Linked DNA regions of Homo sapiens: region 2 is linked to region 1. Evidence: promoter capture Hi-C in 16 types of primary human blood cells and fetal thymus (Javierre and others, 2016). All regions are on one chromosome and are shown on one strand. The core of a region is centred on a gene start or on the middle of the fragment in contact, and the rest is flanking DNA. Distances in the headings are between cores, read along the strand shown. Region 1 holds the start of RNASE1 (ribonuclease A family member 1, pancreatic). Region 2 overlaps ARHGEF40 (Rho guanine nucleotide exchange factor 40).

Region 1 (6,575 bases), core at 474-2,973:
GAAGTGCAATTAAAGCTCCAAGGGCTTGTCTAGATTGCTATGCATAAATAGACAAAATGGCTTCCTGTAGTTTCAGGATTCCTAGGGCCAGGGGCTGTTGAAGAGCCTTATTATAGTTACAGAAGATCTGTTCACATCTGAACTGTGGTTCTGAAATCATCTTGCTGGGTGGAGGCCACTTTTGTGCAGCCACGCCCAGTGCCTTAGTGGGGTCCACCTGACTAACCAAACCATCCCACCAGGCGCCCTTCAGGTGAGTCCTGTGCCTTATTTATGTCTGTATCCCACAGTCTAATGAATGAATGAACACATTCTAACTTGACTATTCAAGAGAATAAAAGTATTATTAAAGACTCAGAAAAATAAAATACAGGTGGGGGCTGGGGGAGTAAGGAAACTGTAGGGGCCAAGGAAAAATTCCCCTTTCACCCTCCAAAGGTTTGCTGAAAATCAACTGACAAAAGACAGATTGATAGGAAAAAACGCATACAAATTGATTTGATCGTAGTTTTACACGACACGGGAGCCTTCAGAAGACCCAAAGATAACAGGGGAAAGTGGGCATTCTTACACTTGGATATCAACAAAGTATGAACAGCTGTGTAGAAATATGACTGGACAACAGGGCGATCTAATGAAAATAGACTGAGTGGGGAAACCCAGCAAGGCCTCCCTGTCTAGATTCTTCTTGGCCTCTCTGAGCATTCGTCCTTTTTTTCTGGGTATGGGGGGCAGGACCCTCTCTGGAATGAGGATCTTACGACCTACAATCACACAAGGTAGGTCAGATAATTTCACTATGGCCACTTTTTACACAGAAAGGCTGAAACAATCTGAATACACAGCACGAAGGGATATTTTGATAATTCTTAGAGGTATCCAAATTGTTACTCAGCAAAAAAACAGGTCTCTTTCTAGGAGGGCATTCTGCTGCTAATAAATATGATATTCTTTGTATTTTTTCCCCAAAAAGAATTTGAGATTTGGGATTTAAGTTTATCTTTAGTTCCTCTACTCAATTCCGACCTACAGGGTCAGTGGTTACTGTAGATAAGAACAGCCCCATCCTCTCGATGCCCCCAGAGCAGGGGTGGAGGGTGGGTGGGAAGTGGCCAGAACTGGGTGAGCGCACCCTAGAGGCCTCCTCCTCCTCCCTATTCAGTTACTCCCCCTTTCTTCTCCAGATCTGGGAAGCCTTCCAGCTGGGGGCAGCAGGACAGCCTCCATTCCCCCCGACCCCGCCTCCCATCCCCGGGAGAGGTAGCGTTGGGAGAATGCCCTCCTAGAAAGAGACTTGGGTTTTGCTCCCTAGGAGCCCTGGAATAGCTTTGGCCAGAATTCCCTATCTCCCATTAGAACCTCTCCTTTGCGTCCTTTGTTAACCTCCAAGTCTACTTGGTGAAAACGCCCACGAAGAAGTAACAAGGACTTTGTTCCTAGTGTGCCAGGTTTGGGCACCAGTGCTGTAGTGGCTTTCTCTGCTGCTCCTTGTGCATCAGCAGACAGATGTGGTTCACATAGGAAGAAAGACTAACGTAGGCAAAGATTTGCTCTTTCTTCAGCAGCCCTAGAAAGACGGCGGCCTGGGTGATTCACCACTCCTTCCTCACGTCCTTGATTTTATTTGAACTGAGCTCCAGATGCTCCTCCCACCCTTTTCCTCTTGGAAGCCAAACCCCTTTGTAATCTGTATAAGGTCCACACCCCGGGAGCTGAGTGATTGCAGAAACTGGCCTTCCATCTCTCTCAGACACCAAGCTGCAGATCCAGGTAAGCAGCCCAAGAGGTGTTCTCAGGTGCCGCTTCTGCTTCAGGGTTGCAGAAGAGGGAGCTAGGGCCAGTCCACAGCACTGAGAAAGATTGGGTGATGCTAGCGCTGAAAAAATGTGGCCCAGGCAAACATCAGCTGGGGGCAGAGGGGTCAGGGTGGAACGTGCAGGCTGCAGAGCATCCATGGGACTGGAGAAGAAGGAGCCTCCAAATTGGGGGAGGCCAGCGTTTCTCTCTGGAATACAATGGAATCTTTTATGATGCCAGTGTCAGGCACTGGCCTGAGTTCCCTTATGCTCCAAGACAACAAGGCTCTGTCACCCATGGCCCTGGATGTCGGGGATACAATTTGGTTCATGATTTATTCAAACTGATGTTTCGATGAGCCATTTGAGCACTGGGTACAAATGTATTTTGGATCAAAGAAACTCCAGTATTCAAAGATAGGAACTGACAGGATTTTAGGTCACTTTGTAGGTCACCACCTAGAGGGGAGGAAGACCTCGCTTTGGAGAGTGGGAATAAAACGCTCGTGGAAAAGGGTACACGTGAGTGTCTCATTACACGAAAAACCTCAGGAAGTAGGATGGACGTCTTTCTGGCTGACCTGAAACAGAAAGTGTAAACCAGGCAAGCCATAGGTGGGAGCTGGAGTTCTTTTTCTAAGAGGGCTCTTTTCCTTCTCTCTCCTTTTCTCAATTAGGCTTTTCTGGGAAAGTGAGGCCACCATGGCTCTGGAGAAGTCTCTTGTCCGGCTCCTTCTGCTTGTCCTGATACTGCTGGTGCTGGGCTGGGTCCAGCCTTCCCTGGGCAAGGAATCCCGGGCCAAGAAATTCCAGCGGCAGCATATGGACTCAGACAGTTCCCCCAGCAGCAGCTCCACCTACTGTAACCAAATGATGAGGCGCCGGAATATGACACAGGGGCGGTGCAAACCAGTGAACACCTTTGTGCACGAGCCCCTGGTAGATGTCCAGAATGTCTGTTTCCAGGAAAAGGTCACCTGCAAGAACGGGCAGGGCAACTGCTACAAGAGCAACTCCAGCATGCACATCACAGACTGCCGCCTGACAAACGGCTCCAGGTACCCCAACTGTGCATACCGGACCAGCCCGAAGGAGAGACACATCATTGTGGCCTGTGAAGGGAGCCCATATGTGCCAGTCCACTTTGATGCTTCTGTGGAGGACTCTACCTAAGGTCAGAGCAGCGAGATACCCCACCTCCCTCAACCTCATCCTCTCCACAGCTGCCTCTTCCCTCTTCCTTCCCTGCTGTGAAAGAAGTAACTACAGTTAGGGCTCCTATTCAACACACACATGCTTCCCTTTCCTGAGTCCCATCCCTGCGTGATTTTGGGGGTGAAGAGTGGGTTGTGAGGTGGGCCCCATGTTAACCCCTCCACTCTTTCTTTCAATAAAACGCAGTTGCAAACACCTGATTTCTGAAGCGGTTCTGTCTAGGTACTGTTTCTGGCATTGCCTTCCAGCAAGGGGTAAGAACTGTAAATCTGATTCACTTTGGAGAACGGTGAATGGAGTAATTAAATGCCTTCCCTTCTGACTTGGATTTTAGTGGCTTGAGAAAATTCCTTTCCTTGTAGATTCCCTGATGCCAAACATAAAACTGTTAAGTGTGGGCTGTTTTAGACAAAAGGGAGCTACAGCCTGGGACACTGCCATGCAGGGTGAACTGACAGAGGGGTGAAGCTCAAATACAATCATTCTCTGGCACAGAAGGAAGGCAAGTGTGACCTCAGGAAGATCCTGCTTAGCCTCAGGGTGGGGAAGAGGACTCAATGAAATTATGATCCTAAATTTCCATTTTCCTTTTTTTTTTTTGAGTGAGCTATTACTAAATCAGAAAAATGGGCACCTCTTAGTTGGAAAGCCAGAACCTTACATTTTAGAGCCAGAAGTGACTTTGGAGAGCACGGAATTGAGGGATAGCAAGTAGATTTCAGTTTGTGTACCAACTCTAATTGGAAGTGCCGGTCGGGCGTGGTGGCTCACACCTATAATTCCAGCACTTTGGGAGGTTGAGGCAGGTGGATCACCTGAGGTCAGGAGTTCAAGACCAGCCTGACCAGTATGGTGAAACCCCCTCTCTACTAAAAATACAAAAAGTAGTGGGGCGTGGTGGCAGGTGCCTGTAATCCAGCTACTAGGGAGGCTGAGGCAGGAGAATCACTTGAACCTGGGAGGCGGAGGTTGCAGTGAGCTGAGATGGTGCCACTTCACTCCAGCCTGGGCAATAAGAGTGAAACTCTGTTTCAAAAAAAAAAAAAAGGAAGTGCCTACCCAAAATGCTGTAGCAAAAAATTCTGGACAGTGGTGTGGTTGAACAACAGCCTCTATCGAAGGCACGAGAGGGGGAAGGGTGTGTGTGCCACACATTTGCCATCCCTGACCAAATGTGACCCCTGCCTTTCCGGTGACTTGCACATGGCTTGTTGCTAGTTAGTGGCACAGCCGGGACTACACCCTAGGTTTCCTGACTTCCAAGCCATTGTTCTAACTCAGGAAGCCATTGCTCTAACTCAGGAAGAAAGCTCCCCTCCTCAGTAAGTGCTGTGGAGCGGTAGCTCTCTCCCAGAGCTTGCTGGTGGGCTCTCACAGGCTCCCAGTGTTCTTAGCCTGTGAGTCCACTCCACTCTTGGCAACCCTTCCTGACAGCCACTGAAAGACTACCTTTGGCATCTGTCAACACTTAACCTGGGAGGCAGAGGTTGCAGTGAGCCGACATCGCGCCACTGCATTCCAGCCTGAGTGACAGAGCAAGATTCCATCTCACAGGGTGGGGGGTGGGGAAGCTTGCCATATAAAGAATACTTTCTGCAGGGCCTGTGCGGAGATCCACTGTCTTGTGGCTGCCTGAGACATGGCTTCTATTTGTAAGTCCCTATTAAATGTTTCTTTCTGAGAAACTGAACTTGTCATGAAGTGGGATTTAAGGAACCAGAGAGACCAGATGGCGTGCAGGAGGGTGTTTATTTTAAGGTGTACACTGGCCCAGCGGACTTGTGTCCTAAAAGGCTGAGCCCAAGAACAAAGAAAATGAGTCCCTTTTAAGCATTTTGAGGCAGGAACTAAGTGAAGCAGGCTTACAGAAGTGAGAACAAAAGGCCGCTGTGACACTTTTGGAACATGTCTTACATCTCTGTGAGAACTTGGTTTGCAGCTTATGCTTATCTGTCTTGTGACCTTGCAGCTGTGCAGGGAAGAAAGAAACAGGAGTTTACAGAGCCTACAAAATATGTGGAGGATAGATATGGTTAACGTTTCTTGGGACAGACAGTTAATATTCTCTTCTAACTTTAACTTCAGGGGGGCTACTTAAATTCTTTTCAGCCTTGGTTAATACAGCAATTCATTCTATGAGCTATTGTTATTTCTCTTATTATTATTACGTATGCTATTATTTGTTATTTTCTTAGTTTCCTACTTCAGTCAAGCCCTTTCTTTGGCCTCTCATCTCCCTCAGCCCTTGGGGGTACATTGGCATAGACCTGCTCACTGCAGAACAAGGAAGGAGGAAGCAGGAGAAACCAAACCTGCCATACCGTGTTCTTGAACTTCTGGCCTCCAGTGAGAAAATGAATTTCTGGCTGGGCATGCTGCCTCACGCCTGTAACCCCAGCACTTTGGGAGGCTGAGGCAGGAGGATTGCTTGAGCTCAGGAGTTCAAGAGCAGCCTGGGCAACATAGTGAGACCCCCGTCTCTACAAAAAAATATTAAAAAATTAGCCAGGCAAGGTTGCAAACACCTATAGTCCCAGCTACTCGGGAGGCTGAGATGGAGGATCACTTGAGCCTTGGGGGTCGAGGCTGCGCTCCAGCCTGGGCAACAATGAGACCCTGTCTCAAAATTTTAAAAAATAAATAAATAAATAAATGCATTTCTATCGTTTGAGCCGCCCATTTTGTTATGGCAGCCCTAGGAAATGAATACACCCTTTAACCAATTCTTCCACTTCTCTTGGATTGCATCCGTAGCTGCCCTGACACATCCCTATGGCGGGCTGGTCTAAATTAGATGCCACGGTGGTGGGGATGGGGTGGCTGTGGGGTGAATAGAAGTGTCTGTGGGGACAAATGAACATCTACTTCTTCCTGGGACAGCTGGATGGAGTGGAGGGACTTTAGAAACCGTTAACAGGTCTTAGGGAACTGGCCCTGCGTCCCTTCTGAGGCTGCTGTAAGGGGAAAAGAAAAAGTAGGGGCATGAAAGCCCTTGGCAAGATGTGAAGCGAGGCAGCCTTCGTGCATGCTTGGTCAGTTGTGTACCTCCAGCTAGTTAGTGTGCAACAGCCCTCACGCTTCCTCTGCAACTTCTCCCCTGCCATCAGCTGAGCTTTCATGTTCTCAGTTCATGTTCTCGGTTCATGAGTGTTCATGTTCTCAGTTACTCTTGGAATATGGTTCAATTCAGAAATTCCCAATGCACTATTAATGAACATAGAGAGACGGATATACTATTCTACCAAAAAAAAAATCTGCCCTTTTAAAATCCAGGGAATGTCTGGACATACACATTCTTAAGTCAAAGGAACATTTTTCTAGCATTTGTGAAAGAAGGAGTGAATGAATGGAGGTTGGAAGGAGTGCAGTAGTTACAAAGATTGGCTTATTTTTTATGGGTCTAGCCTGGATTTTAAAAACCTGAGACAGGATAACAACTCCAAGTGCCTGTGGGACTTCTGTAAAATGGAAATATTCATAACACTTAATTAGAAGTACTGTGGTAAAGATGACATTCAGAGAAAGCGTAGTGTTCAGCGTTCTGTGGACACTCAGAAAGTTAGC
Region 2 (6,637 bases), core at 3,571-6,070, 270 kb before region 1:
GCTGGAGTCGCCGCAGGCACTGCCGCTGCTCTTGCTGCTGCACGTGCAGGTTGGAGAGGCGCACAAGCTGGTGAATGGCCTCGTCCACTTCCTGATACAGTGTAGCTGGGCCTTGGCCCTCCAGCCTTGGGAAGGAGCAGAGAAGAATGAATCATTTCCCTTGTTGAGCCCCTCAATTCTGTCCTTCCGTGCCTCTGAGGGATGCAAACATGAGAGGTTGCATAGCAGCATGGATCAAAAGCATGGGCTGAACCCTGACTGCTTTGGTTTGAATCCTGACTCTTTACTGACCGATGTTGGCCAAGACAGTTAACATTTCTGATCCTCCAAATCCTCATTTGTAATAGTAAATGGCACATAAGGATGTTGTGAGGGTTATGAGACAGTAAGTGTAAAAGCATAGTATCTTGCCCAGATACATGCACAGTAAGAATGGTCTGGCAGCTAAGGTTTGTTGGCAGCCTTCAGCTGTGTCTCCACCTCCCACTTCCACCTGCCTCCGCACACCCATACTTCGTACTTGCTGCTGGGAGTGGAGCGCAGCCTCATCAGGATGGCCCCCCCATCCCTCTGCAGTGCCGTCAGCCGGGGATCTGCCAGCACCTTCTGCAGTGGCTTGGGCATTCCCACTGCCTCCTGGGGATAGGGAGGAGTTGCCAGTTGGGGTTCCACCAGAGAGTCTCCACCCCAGCCCCATCCCAATCCCATCCCCCCACTGTCCCATCTCATTTCATACCTCTTCCTCTGGCTCTGCTGCTCCCTCCAGCTCCTCAATGGCCTGCCGTACCGAGCCCAGCACACCTTGGCACAGGCGACATAGCCTTACCACTTCCTGAAACCCACATGCAGGGATGGAGTTGAGGATCAGAGTTTAAGAAGGAACTTAAGCCCTAGGGTTGGGGTGCGGTAGCCCCAGAGACTTTTATGGAGGCAATGCTGAATTCAGTTCCTGACTTTGTTGCTAACTAATTGTATGAGGTTGGGCAGGTTCAGAAACCTTCCTGAACTTCAGTTCCTCAACTGTAAAGTCAGGATAAGAAAGGCTTCTGTGATTTTTAAGGAGATGATGCCAGTTTAGCAACTAACGTGGGCCTGGCACATTGTACAGCTTGGTAACTGTGACCTTCCTGTCTGTCTTCAGTGGGGCTTCCCCCTGTCACACCCCCTCTCTCTGCCTATTCATGTCAATTTCCCCTTTGACACTAAAGGCGAAGCTTAGAGACCATCTACAGACCCCTCTTTCATACTCAGCTCAGATCATGTTTATTTCTCTCTTCTTGAATACTCACAACACTTATATTCATAGAATTACATGAGATAAGTGCTGGAAGGACCTTTAGCAATTATATTGTGATTGTTATACTGCGCTGATGAGGATCCTGAGGCCTGGATGTTGGTGCAAGGAGCGGATACAGAAAGGGCACTATTTCTGCAAGTGAGGTAAAGTAATTTGGAACAAGAACCAGCCTTTTGACTCTCAGTGCTTTCCAGAAACCCAATGACACTATCTTGCACTCTTCTCTACTTGTTTCATGATTTATCTCCCACCAAAAATCATACACTACTTAATGTCATATTAAGAATTTATTTGGCTGGGCATAGTCACTCATGCCTGTAATCTTAGCACTTCGGGAGGCTGAGACGGGTGGATCACTGGAGTCCAGGAGTTTGAGACCAGCCTGGGCAACATGGCAAAACCCCGTCTCTACAAAAAAAAAAAAAAAAAAAATACAAAAACTAGGTGGGTGTGGTGGCACATGCCTGTAGCCACAGCTACTCAAGAGGTTGACATGGGAGGATCGCCTGAGTCCAGAGGGTCGAGGCTGCAGTAAGCTGTGATCGAAGCATTGCACTCCAGCCTGGGTGACAGAGTGAGACTGTCTAAAAATAATAATTATAATAATTTATCATACTCCTCCTATCTCCCCAGTAGAACATGGCACAGTGCACATGTTTTCCTCATGATTTGGGAGCCATAAATACTTGTTGAATTGAATGGAATGGAAACCACTTTTTTGCAACCTCATGGTATGTCCTGGACATGGCCTCTCTCCTAGAATGTCTTCAGCTGGGTTATTCCTGGCTCCCAGCATGCTAGGTGGTAGAGGGGAAGCTTACCTGGTGTATCTCTACCCAGTGACTGGGAGAGGGGTCCCTGTGACCTCCTAACTCCCACTGCAGCTCCTCTGGCTTGGCCACTCTTTTCAGATCATTCTCTGACAGCACCTCAGCACCCTGTAGAGGGTAAGGCAGGGGGTTTCTTCCTGGGCACCCAAGGACTCAGAAACCAGCCTGGGGCTCCAGCCAGCCTCTTCTCCTCTCCCCACTACTGATGGGAAACTAGATGGGAATGAAGGGCTCAAACCTGAAATCCACAGAGTTCAGTTGGAAGGTCATCATGAATGAGAATCAGCAGCCGCTGAACAAGGGGAGGATCTCCTGAGTCCTAAGGGCAGAAAAGAATAACCCTAAACTGGGCAATCGGGTGTCCTGGACTGGCCACTGGTGAAGAGTTAGGATCCAGGGGAACTGCCTGTTTGAGGGGTGGTTACCTGAAGTTGGCTCAAGGCAGGAATGAGTGCTGGAGGCAGTGGAGGTGCCTGACGAAGGTCCAGCAGGACGGACAGCCCCAGTGTCTGTAGATCAGGCCTGCGGGAGCAGGAAGAGCCAAGGAGGCTGCTGTGTGTGTGTTTTGGGGGATAGCAGATAAGGCAAGGCAGACATACGGGGTCTGTTTTTAGTTAATAGTCCTGAGGAGAAATTAGTTGCCGGTACATTTGGGAAGAAATGGGCAAAGGGCCAAATTCTGGGGTGTGTGTACAAGAGGAAGTCACCTAGCAGTCAGGGGTCTATATTCATATGGCTACTAGGTCAAGGGATTAAGGTCTGGAAAATTAAGAATTCTGTTCTGAAATGGCGTGCATTCAATATCAGCCTGTAGTATGGTGCCTAATAGGTACTCAGTGCTCAATAAATGTTTGTTGAATCAGTGAACCAATGTCCTGATGATCTTGGTAGGGTTGGAAGAGAGTGAAAGTCAACAGTGTTGCTTTTGAAGATCAGTGAAGATATGAAGCTGGAGGTCAGGGTAAGTAAGGCCAAAGGTCAATGGCTTGAAGTCTGAAGGTTGAAGAAGTAGGTGTCCTTAGAGGTCAGAAGGTCAGTGTCCTGAGAAGAAGGAGGTGAGGGTCCTCATGAATCAGGAGGTTAGTGTCCAGGGTGCCAGGACTGGGCCTCGGTTACCTGAGCAGTGAGTGGAGGTAATGAAGAGTTGTGTTCAGCGTGTCTCGGGAGGGTGGGGGCTCCTCAGGAGGGCACGGTGGGGTAATGGTCAGCAGAGCTCGCCCACTCTGGTCCACCCCTCCTGAAGACACAAAATGGCCAGGCTGTCCTGGCTGGGAGCAGTCCATGCCTACCTCCTTTCCACCCTGCCTCCCCCAGTCCCCAAGCCCACCCAATTGCTTCTCTTTCCCAGTCCTGTTTCCCTTCACCCACTGATGCCCACTGACCCGTCAGGATGAGGAATCCAGATGCCATCAAGTCCCAAGCTACATCAGGGTGATCAGAGACGGAGACTGCAAGGGCCTCTTCTGGAATGTTGTCCCCTTTTCCTTCCTGCACAGTCTCCAGCGGAGGTGTTGGAGTGTCAGACAGGGGGCCTTCTGGGCCTGTGTGTCCTGCACAGACACAGACAGAAACATGGGACTGAAGTTAAGATGGTTCTGGTTGTTCTGCTCCCAGCCTAACCCTGCTCCTCCTCCTGCCCCCTCCCATAGGCCCGACCTGCTTTGGCCCTTGCCCCATGAGCCTCACTCCGTGTCATCTCACCTGCCATACACAGCAGGCCTGGCCCCTCCAGCTCTCTCTCTCCGGCCCCCTCTTCTGTAGGCCCACAGGCTTCAGAGAGCTGAGGCTCTTTCTCGCCTGCTGTTTTGAGCTCTTTTGGCTCAGATTCTGGCTTCCCTGAGCCTTCATATTCCTCCTTAACCAGGTGGCATTCTGGAAGCTTGTGCTCACTTGGTGAGGGCAGATTGCCAAGGGCTTCTTGGTGGCTGGCATCTTCCTTGTCCCCAGGGCTCAGTGGGGCACTGTCCCCTCCTCGGCTAAGAGCCCCTCGACCTGCAGCTCGCTTCTTTCTTCTGTTTCCTTTGCCTGTTCTCCGAGGGGTACCAGGTGGTCCTTCAGCCCCCTGGCCTCCTCCTCCTCCTCCTCTAAGCTCCCCTGGCCTCAGGGGGCAAGATCCGGAGGCTTCTCCCACAGCCTCTGCTGGGGGCTCAGACACCTCCAAGACTGCTGCCTCTGGGACAGCCTCAGCTCCTGGGGGAGACTCAGGGGAGGCTCCGGTGCTGCTCCCCTCGCCGGGTGGGCGTGCTCCATCCTGGCCCCGAGGCCCCAGGCCCTTCTGGTGCATCCACGCCCGGTGTCTCCGGTGGCGGCCCTTCCCTCCAGCGCCCTTGCGGGTGGGTACCGTCCGGACTCTGGAGAGGCCTGGGGAGCCTTCAGCATCTGTTGGGCTCCCCCTCACGGGCAGCGTCACCTCTAACAGCTCCACATACTCGCCCTCAGGTCCTTCCACAGGGGCATTGTGCCCATCCCCAGGACTCCGGGTACCCAGCGCCTCCTCAGGAAGTGGAGGGCTGGGAAGCCCTGGAGGTCCAGAGGGCAGTTCTGGGGGCAGTGTACTTGGCTGATGTCCAACCATGAGGCCCTCTTTGTGCACAAATCGTGGACAGATGAGCTCAGCCCAGGGCAGCCGCTGAATCCCAGAGGGCGCAGACAGTAGGCAGGTACTGAGGCGACCTGTTGGCCGGTCCTTGTTGATGCCTTGTAGCCACTCAGGTGTGAATAGGTAGGCACAAGCCTCATTGGGCACAGGAACCTCCTGCACCCGCCCACCCCCAGGGGCCAGACACTTGAGTGCTAGTCGGGGTGCTTGGGCAGCTGAGGGCACCACCTGCAGATAGAAGTCTCCTGGGCGCAGCAGTTGCCAGGGTAGGGCTGCTAGCTGCACCACCACCTGTTCATGCAGGCAGAGCGGCCACCCCTCATGGAAGAAGAGGAATCCACTGTATTGGGCCTGGGGAGAGAGGTGGGAGGCTGCACTCAGGCCTCTGCTGAAGAAACCAGCAGGAGAGGGCAGTTAGAATGGGCCCACCCTAGGCAGGACCAGCCTTATGCCTGGAAGGTTATACTCTCAGGAGAGCAGGAGGGGAGATTTGGGGTATTCAGGTGGCAGAGAGGAAGGGATTGGGACTGATCGGTCTCCCAGTAGTAGGAAGATTCTTCAGGAAGCTAGTTCCATGTGTGGGAGGGTAAGAACTGAATCGTTACCAAGACATGGTCAGCAGATGCCATTGTCTTGGAGAAGCTAAAGACTCTTAGGAGTCTTTATATCTGTAGAAATGAATGATCTCTGTTGACTAATGTACGGGGGAGTTAGTGTCTTGAGAAATTCATATGAGGGGGAGAAGATGTCTGGAATTGGGTCTGGAGAGTTAGGGTCTTTGGGGGTCAGTATTGGGGTCAAGATGAATTTGGGGAAGATGAATGTGTGTGTGTGTGTGTGTGTTAGCATCTGAATGGTCAGTGCCTGTGAAGGTCAAAGTTTGTGAGAGGTCAGAGAATGAAGCTTAAGTGATTCTGGAGAGATCGGTTTCAAGGGAGGCTGTATCTCTAGGTTAGTGGGGGCATTAGTCAGCCTGGCTAGTCTGTAGAGTGTGGCAGTGGATCTTGGGGAAGGCAGAATAGTGATGCACGGCCACTCACACAGGCTTCCTGCTGGACCTTGGCAAGCAGGTGCTTGGCTGGTACCAGGAAGTCCAGCGTGTACCTCAGTGCGTCCTCCCGATAAGTCCTCTCCACCACCTGGAACACCTGGCCCAACAGGGTGGGGGCTGTTGCCTCAAAGGGTGGATACAGGGCGGCGAGAGTGCTCTGCACACAGTCCTCCACTGGCTCAGGCTCCTGTAGAGATAGGACCAGGCTACAGATCCCTAGAGATCACCCAATCATGGCTCCTTGGGAGCTGCACTGGTCTGGGGTTGGCTGTGTTCTCCAAAGCCCCGATTGTACAATGTGGGCAAAAAGTGAGCACTCAGGAAATGCTGGCTGATGAGCCCAGAACAGGAGTGGGGCTGGGCCAGAGTGCACAAACCTGGCAGGGCGCTCAACACTCCCGCTCTGAGACCTTGGCTTTGGAGATCCAGGGAGAATTTGTTGTGAATGCCCCTGATCAGGGCTGTTCCGGGTGCTCGTGAGTTGGGGTGATTGCATAGATCTTTCCCAGGAGAGAAAAGACAGGCTTCTGGGCTATCAGGGGACTGAGCTTATGGCTGAGAACTCGAGGGGATGAGGGAGATTTCCACACAGCCATCCTGCAAATCCCTTCCCATAAGACCCACCATCCAGGGCTCCCCATCTTAGGTGGAGGTGCCATCACCCACAATTATGTCCCAGAGATGATCATTTGGTGAAAGAGAGATGCTCATTTATATGCTAGAGATGGTCATTTGGTGGAAAGAGGAGGATGGAAAGACTGTCTGTGACTGTCTTGGGTCTTTCTAGCATCCCTCTTCCTTCTCCCACAGTGGCTCTGAAGCAATCACCCAATCTTAGAGCATGTGGGATTGGATTACAA

What was found. Contacts are between HindIII fragments. The CHiCAGO score rates a contact against its expected background, and 5 or more counts as called.
Region 2: a contact is called between a fragment that was not itself captured here and the fragment with the promoter of RNASE1 in region 1, in 1 of 17 cell types (monocytes). The highest score is 5.1, in monocytes.

What each region holds. Positions count from the first base shown.
Region 1 is chr14:20,797,992-20,804,566 of GRCh38, reverse strand. It overlaps RNASE1 (ribonuclease A family member 1, pancreatic), which reads left to right and starts at 1,723. Exons shown (of 2, transcript NM_002933.5): 1 at 1,723-1,770; 2 at 2,474-3,339. The coding sequence starts at 2,499. The coding sequence ends at 2,969. The region is part of intron 3 of LOC105370397 (a long non-coding RNA gene); the gene reads right to left. It overlaps LOC107984671 (a long non-coding RNA gene), which reads left to right and starts at 4,038. Exons shown (of 3, transcript XR_001750624.2): 1 at 4,038-4,663. The HindIII fragment of the contact is 7,079 bases long and covers 1-4,584 here.
Region 2 is chr14:21,072,372-21,079,008 of GRCh38, reverse strand. It overlaps ARHGEF40 (Rho guanine nucleotide exchange factor 40), which reads right to left. Exons shown (of 24, transcript NM_018071.5): 2 at 5,767-5,964; 3 at 3,829-5,077; 4 at 3,510-3,677; 5 at 3,244-3,364; 6 at 2,553-2,649; 7 at 2,366-2,446; 8 at 2,119-2,235; 9 at 737-832; 10 at 521-636; 11 at 1-125. Among named protein-coding and RNA genes, the nearest start is that of ARHGEF40, 5.4 kb to the right of the region's middle. The HindIII fragment of the contact is 1,623 bases long and covers 4,009-5,631 here.